2 separate regions of the Homo sapiens genome follow, and region 2 is linked to region 1. Evidence: promoter capture Hi-C in 16 types of primary human blood cells and fetal thymus (Javierre and others, 2016). All regions are on one chromosome and are shown on one strand. Each heading gives the region's core, a stretch centred on a gene start or on the middle of the fragment in contact. The rest is flanking DNA. Distances are from core to core; before and after follow the strand shown.

Region 1 (3,735 bases), core at 679-3,178:
AACTCTGTCCTGGCCTCTCCCTGGCTCATGACCTTTCCTGCTCACACACCCCCAGAATCAATTCTAACCCTCCGCCTGGCATTCAAGGCCTTTCTCAAACTGGCTCCAATATGCCCAGGTCCCAGTACCCTTTCTGCTGCCTGCCTCTTTCTTTCTTTCTTTTTTTTTTTTTTGAGACAGAGTTTTGCTCTTGTTGCCCAGGCTGGAGTGCAATGGCACGATCTTGGCTCACCGCAACCTCCGCCTCCTGGGTTCAAGCGATTCTCCTGCCTCGGCCTCCCGAGTAGCTGGGATTACGGCATGCGCTACCATGCCCAGCTAATTTTTTGTATTTTTAGTAGAGACGGGGTTTCTCCATGTTGGTCAGGCTGGTCTCAAACTCCTGGCCTCAAGTGATCCGCTCACCTGGAGCTCCCAAAGTGCTGGGATTACAGGTGTGAGCCACTGCACCGGGGCCATCTTGTTTAATTCTGCAGGACCCCTAAGAAGCGGGTAGCAAGATTTTCATGCTCATCTCACACGTGGGAAAAGGGCGCTCAGAGAGGGAAAGGTGCTTGCCCAAGAGAGCACAGCTGGTTAACCCATACCCAGGAGGCCTGCTGGGGGCTTACCTGGTGGGTGTCAGGACGAGGCAGAAGATGCCATAGGGATCCTCAGACAGCTTCTGCAAGATGGGAAGGACAAACGCTGCTGTCTTCCCACTGCCTGTCTTAGCACAGCCCAAGCAGTCTCGACCTGGGTTGGGGACAAAGCAGCATCAACACCCTCCATGTGTGGACAGCTGGGTTTCAGAGACCTTGCCCAGGACACACTGCCAGTGAGTGGCAGGCTGGACTGGAACCCATATCCATTTGACCCGAGATGCCCACAGCTTCCTACCACCTCGTTCTAACTCCGTCCAGGAGCACGTGAATTTGGGGAATCCAGAATTCCCTTCCCTCATATGCATCTTGTGCTCCCTGTTGACCCCTTCATTTGTTTATTTAATCCCTGACTTATCACATCTTAGGCTTCCTGTGGGCCTCTCTTTAATGGCGAAACTGGGTTGGGCTAGAGGAGCAGAGAGAAGACCTTCTCCTAGAGGAGCAATCACAGGACCAAGGAGTCCTGGATCTACCAGCAATTTTGACAGCCTCAACTTCTATTTGTAAAATAAAGATAGCAGTACCAGGTCTGCAGGATTTTGCGATACTATCGGACTAGTCATCCATCAAACCCTCCCTGTGCTGAGACTATGAAAATTTCAGAGATTACATCACTTGCGTACGAACACAAAGCGAGTCAGTCATGCAACCTAAATGCCAACACTGTCCAGTCGTCCTCCGGAACCCCGGATCTCCTGTAACGCCCGAGGTTGCCCCTCGCCTCGTGGGACCGGAATAAGCAAAGGTTGCGAGAAGGGAAAGGAGTCGAGAGGAGCGGAGAGGCCTCTTGGGGAAGGCCCTGGGCCATACTCACCCTCCAGGATGGCGGGGATGCAGCCGAGCTGCACGGGCGTGGGCTGCTTCAAACCCAGCTGCCGACATTGTTCCACGAGCCACGATGACAGCCCGAGCTCCGCGAAGCCTGCCATCCTTGTGGCCGCTTGTAGGGGCCCCTTGTAGGGGCCCGTGTGATCCGCGCTTCCGGCGCGCGCCGACGACGTCACGAGAAAAATCTTCCTGTTTATTGGATCTGCCTCCTGCGTGGTCCCACCCTCTCCAGCTCCCTCAGCCTATTCCCAGCCTCGACCGCATCCTTATCATGTTTCCCCGGATCCCATTGGCTTGCAGAAACACACTACAATTCCCGAGATGCTCTCCGTGACGCACTTACGCCTTCCGCCCCCTTGCATATTATTGTGGAGCTTCCCATTGGCTTACTTCGCCGCCGCTCGGAAAAAGTAAACTACATTTCCTAGCGTGCCCGTGTCTTGCTTCCGGCTGACGTGTCTTTCAGGAAGAGGAGCTGGTGAGAAGACAGCGAAATGGCGCCTCCGGCCCCCGGCCCGGCCTCCGGCGGCTCCGGGGAGGTAGACGAGCTGTTCGACGTAAAGAACGCCTTCTACATCGGCAGCTACCAGCAGTGCATAAACGAGGCGCAGCGGGTGAAGGTGCGGCCGCGCAGGGGCGCGGGGACGCTGGGGGCGGAGGCGGAGGACGCTTTCTGGTGGCCGCGAGCCGCGTTCTGCGTCTAAAAACTTTCTCTTTTCTTCTCGCGTTTTTTGGGCCACCTCTTCCACAGTTCAGTGAGGAGTAGTCACTGTCCCGTGACAGAACCCAGAGCAGTAACAGTTTACGGTACTGCTCACTCGTACAGCGTTCTCTCTGCGCCCTTGAAAGTGTTTTGAGTAAGGGAGGTGTTTATGCCACTGTAGTGACAATAAGCCTATTTTGTTCAGCCATACCTTCAGTTCCCGTGAGATGGAGACTGTTGCTTATCCTCATTTTACGGATGAGAACCCTAAAGTTCAGAGAAGGACGTTTCCCTGCCCAACCAGCCTGGTTATTTCTCCCAGAGCTTACCCATTCATTCATTCATTCTTCATTGAGCACTTTTTTGGACGGGCACTGTATTCCGCTGGACTCAGAATGATAAACACAGTTTCCCAGCGCAGTGGCTCAAACGCCTGTAATTCTGGCGCTTTGGGAGGCCGAGGCGGGCAGATCGCATGCGCCCAGGAGTTCGAGACCAGCTTGGGCAACGTGGAGAAACCATGAGTCTACCAAAAATTAGCCGGGCGTGGTGGCGGGCACTTGTAATCTCAGCTACCGGGAGGCTGAGACAGGAGAATCGCTTCAACCCGGAGGCCGAGGTTGCAGTGAACCGAGATCGCGCCACTGCACTCCAGCCTGGGTGACAAAGTTGTAAGAATTAAAGAGGAAAGAAACACGAAAGGTGGCTTGCCAGTCAAGACAGGTTTATTTTAGAGAAAACAAACCTGAGAGGCGCCTTCTGGCGGAGTTGGGTCAGAGTAACACTCTTTTACAGACTAAGAGTTTTTAAGGATTCAGGGTCGGAGAGTTTATCAGAGGCTTGAACTGCTTCTGTGTCTCTTCGTTGTGCTTATCTGGGAGGGAGAGTTGTGTGTCTGTTCCCATACATCTTTCTTTTTTCTTTTCTTTTCTTTTCTTTTTTTTTTTTTTTTGAGATGGAGACTCGCGCTGTTGCCAGGCTGGAGTGCAGTGGCGTGATCTCGGCTCACTGCAACCTCCGCCCCCAGGTTCAAGCAATTCTCCTTTCTCAGCCTCTCGAGTAGCTGGGATTACAGGCGCGCGCCACCATGGCCCGGCTAATTTTTGTATTTTTAGTAGAGACGGGGTTTCACCATGTTGGCCAGGATGGTCTCCATCTCTTGACCTTGTGATCTGCCCGCCTTGGCCTACCAAAGTGTTGGGATTACAGGTGTGAGCCACCGTGCCCAGCCTCCCATACATCTTTCTGCAGCTGCAGGCATACCCCCCTACTCTGCTTTTAGCTTGCCTATTTTAGTGCACCTGAAGGGAAAGGAATGTGCTTATTAAGGCCCACTGTTTTACTGGGGCCCGTTGTATGAAGGTGAAGTTTGGCAGTTACCCAAGAAATTTTCTTCCCACTCTCTCTCTGTCCGAGCTGTCTTTCTGTGTTTTACTGTCTCCTCTTTCTGGCTGCTTGTAGTTAGAAGTGATTTCCTGGCCGGGCGCGGTGGTTCACACCTGTAATTCCAGCACTTTGGGAGGCGGGCGGATCACCTGAGGTCAGGAGTTCGAGACCAGC
Region 2 (3,735 bases), core at 658-3,157, 1.5 Mb after region 1:
GCCTCGGCTGCCAGGCAGGGAAGGGCCCCCTGTCCAGTGGACACGTGACCCACGTGACCTTACCTATCATTGGAGATGACTCACACTCTTTACCCTGCCCCTTTTGCTTTGTATCCAATAAATAACAGCACAGCCAGACATTCGGGGCCACTACCAGTCTCCGCGCATTGCTGGTAGTGGTCCCCCGGGCCCAGCTGTCTTTTCTTTTATCTCTTCGTCTTGTGTCTTTATTTCTACACTCTCTCGTCGCCGCACACAGGGAGAGACCCACTGACCCTGTGGGGCTGGTCCCTACAGTAATTTTAAAGGGAAGAGCAACAAACTTTCGGTTTGCAGGGCTGGGACTGTTTACAGCTGCAAAATTTAGAGAGGACATCAATCTATTATTATCCACATTTTACAGCTGGGGAAATCAATGCTAAGAGAGGAAATTCATTTGCCCAGAGGTGCACCACCCTGGCCTCCAATGTGCAATTCATGCAATTGTGATTTCCGACCTGGTCCCAAACTAACCCTAAAGTTAGCAGGCCAGAACAGTGCTGCTCAAATAAGTCAGCTTAGTCAAATAAGTCAGGCAAAGGTCGTGTCTTTGCACCTGGAGTCCTGGCCAGGCTGGTAGGTCCCTCCTCCTGGGACAAGTTCACCCTCAGAATTTTCAGCAAGATCATCTCCCACAGCTTGTTAATTGGTTCTTGGTTCTAAGTGATTTTTTTGTTTATTGGTTTAAGAGATGGGATCCCACTCTATCACCCAGGCTTGAGTGCCGTGGCACAATCATAGCTCGCTGCAGCCTCAAACTCCTGGGCTCGAGTGATCCTCCTGCCTCAGCCTCCCAGCCTCAGCCTGGGACCACAGGCATGTACCACCATGCCTGGCTCTAAGTGGCTTTAATGGGGTCCTTCTGAGGGATGTTGGAGTCAGGGCCTGGGGGGAGTTCCCCAGGCCTTCTGGGAGGCCTGGGCTCTGGACTTGACCTCGCCTACTGTCTGGCCCTGCTGAAAAGAAAAAAAAACATGGAAATGGCAGACCTAACAGAATCTGGGCTGTGGTCAGGATGTGGCTGAAGAAGCCACAAGAAAAACATGCAGTCCCCTTTCAGCGGTCATGCCCAGCAGTTGGGTGCCGATAATGGGCCTGATTTCCTGTAGGAAGCCCTGGCTCTCTTGGCCACATGGACAGTGTCTGAGGCTGGCCCTGTTATTCCCCTTTGCAGATGAAGAAACAGGCTCAGAGAGTTTACCTGGTATCCTGGAGTCCCAGGAGCACTTTTTCTGGAAGTAGGAGCTTGTTTCCTGCAGGTGCCAAGACAGAGACCGACATTGTTTGTTGGCTGGGTCGGTCTCCCAGTTTTCAGCTGGCTCCAGTCTCACCTGTTGCTCACACACCCTCCATGTCTCCCATAGTCCCCTCGGTGGGGACAGAGGCACTGGATGAAGCCCTGCTCGTCACCACAGAGACACCTGAACACAAAAACCAGTCCCTGGGGTCAGACCCAGGCCCCGCCCCCAGACCCAGGCCCTGCCCTCACTCCACCACGCAACTGTGCAACCTCAGTTTCCCCAGGTGGAGACCGGACCAACAGTGATGGCCTCTGCCTCTTCAGGTCATAGTACAGATGAATACAGGCTGGCACGGCCTAGGCACTCAGTAACACACAGCAGAGGCACAGGGACTTAAGATGGAGTGTCCCAGGCAGCCACAGTTGGCTGGCACCCAGCTGGGAAGGGCCCAAGGGCTTTTAAAGCAGGGTGAAAAAAAAGCCCACCTCCTTTCTGGGAAACTGAAACTGAAAACCTAATTAATCCTCTGCCTGTAGGTGCCTCATGCAAGAGCTGCTGGTCAGAGCACTTCCTGGAACTTGCTATTGGTCAGGACGTTTCCTATGCTAATAAAGGGGTGGCCCGTAGAAGATTCCAGCACCCTCCCCTAACTCCAGGCCAGACTCTAAAGGGGAGATCTGGATGGCATCTACTTCGTATGACTATTGCAGAGTGCCCATGGAAGACGGGGATAAGCGCTGTAAGCTTCTGCTGGGGATAGGAATTCTGGTGCTCCTGATCATCGTGATTCTGGGGGTGCCCTTGATTATCTTCACCATCAAGGCCAACAGCGAGGCCTGCCGGGACGGCCTTCGGGCAGTGATGGAGTGTCGCAATGTCACCCATCTCCTGCAACAAGAGCTGACCGAGGCCCAGAAGGGCTTTCAGGATGTGGAGGCCCAGGCCGCCACCTGCAACCACACTGTGGTAAGCTCCTCAACTCCTTTGGATGGCCTAGTACTAGGCGGTGGGAGGGACAAGAATCTCTCCCCAGAAATCTGACCCAGGGTGGGTCTCCAGGGAGATGCAGGGGAGGTCCTGAAACTGCTCCTGGGCCCCCACATCAAGGGACCTAGGTTCCCCTACCAGGGTTTGTGGGCCCCTAACCCAGTCCAGGGCACTGGTGTAGGGGCAGGGTGTTAAAACTCTCCAGATCCCCCAAATCGGGGACCTCAGTATCCCCCTGGGACTTAGGTGAATTTATAAATTCTTTCCAGGGCACTGGTGTCGGGGGCCTTGAAACTCCTCGTGGGCACCAGTCCTGGGGGAGTAGAAATCCCTATTCAGGGTTGAAGGGGGACCTCACCAGACCCTGAAAAAGGGGGCTTTTGAAATTTTCACTTCATCCCTAAGAAACTGAAATATTCACCTGGGTCCTGATATGGGGGATCTTGAAACTCTCGCTGGGCATGTCACTTGGGCGGGGAAATCCCACTGCATTCTGGATTTGGTAGGGCCCTCTAACTTTTCTTGGGCCATTGCTCAGGCAATCTGGAAATGTCCACTAAACTTTGGTTATCGATAGCCTCCAAGTTTCCACGTGGGGTGGCCTCAAAACTCCCATTTTGAGGACCCACATGCTTATGGGTGGCCCTGGGAGAGTGTGTGGTTGTGGCTGTTCTTTAAGGTTGGAGACCATGGTGCAGAGAGGGTTGGAAGAAAACCTGAAAGGGGTTTGCATTTAAGCCCCTCTGTCCCCAGGACCTAGGGAGGAGGCCCAGGTCCCAGGGGCAGCAGCCAAACTCCCCAGGCCAAAACCCCAGATTCTAACTCTTCTTAGATGGCCCTAATGGCTTCCCTGGATGCAGAGAAGGCCCAAGGACAAAAGAAAGTGGAGGAGCTTGAGGGTGAGAAAGGGAGAAGGGAGAGGGCCGGGGAGGGGTGAGTCAGGTATGGAAGAGGGGGTGGGGGCAGGGAGACCAGGGCTGGAGGTTGGGGTAAGGGGGAGGTTCTGTCCCAGAGTGGAGCAGGGCCCCAGCATGGCCACATGCTGACCCGCCCCCTGTTTCTGTCCTCCCACCCTACCAGGAGAGATCACTACATTAAACCATAAGCTTCAGGACGCGTCTGCAGAGGTGGAGCGACTGAGGTCAGAGATAGCCTTCCCCCGCTACCCTCCACCTGCCACATTCCTCTCACCCCCACATCCCTAGCCCAAGACCCAGGATCTCCTTTGCTCCCAAAATCCCCATTGCCCCAAGGGATAAAGTTTGAGTCCCACAAAAGGATAACTTAGCCCCTAGGGTCACAGAGCCATGGGTGGCCGCTGTCCATTCCCTCCCCGGTGACTTGGATTGGGGCGGTGCGGGGGGAACTCCCGGGGGCGGTGGGCTTACAGGGAGGGCGGCAGGAGCCAGGACGAGCAGATGCCTGATTTGCCATCTGTACCGCAGAAGAGAAAACCAGGTCTTAAGCG

The links. Contacts are between HindIII fragments. The CHiCAGO score rates a contact against its expected background, and 5 or more counts as called.
Region 2: the fragment with the promoter of BST2 here is called in contact with the fragment with the promoter of COPE in region 1 in 1 of 17 cell types (total CD4 T cells); the score reaches 5.1 in total CD4 T cells.

The regions. Positions count from the first base shown.
Region 1 is chr19:18,917,580-18,921,314 of GRCh38, reverse strand. COPE (coat protein complex I subunit epsilon) reads left to right here and starts at 1,928. Exons shown (of 10, transcript NM_007263.4): 1 at 1,928-2,092. The coding sequence starts at 1,967. DDX49 (DEAD-box helicase 49) reads right to left here and starts at 1,600. Exons shown (of 13, transcript NM_019070.5): 1 at 1,459-1,600; 2 at 612-735. The coding sequence starts at 1,573. RefSeq lists enhancers at 1,326-1,925, 2,828-3,718 and a silencer at 2,006-2,195. The HindIII fragment of the contact is 20,861 bases long and covers 1-3,735 here.
Region 2 is chr19:17,403,802-17,407,536 of GRCh38, reverse strand. It overlaps BST2 (bone marrow stromal cell antigen 2), which reads left to right and starts at 1,907. Exons shown (of 5, transcript NM_004335.4): 1 at 1,907-2,246; 2 at 3,100-3,166; 3 at 3,348-3,408; 4 at 3,713-3,735. The coding sequence starts at 1,962. It overlaps BISPR (BST2 interferon stimulated positive regulator), which reads right to left and starts at 1,851. Exons shown (of 4, transcript NR_130766.1): 1 at 1,766-1,851; 2 at 1,241-1,460. It also overlaps a transcript of MVB12A not described here. RefSeq lists enhancers at 896-945, 1,146-1,195, 1,246-1,305, 1,496-1,875, 1,946-2,005 and 2 more. The HindIII fragment of the contact is 7,369 bases long and covers 1-2,026 here.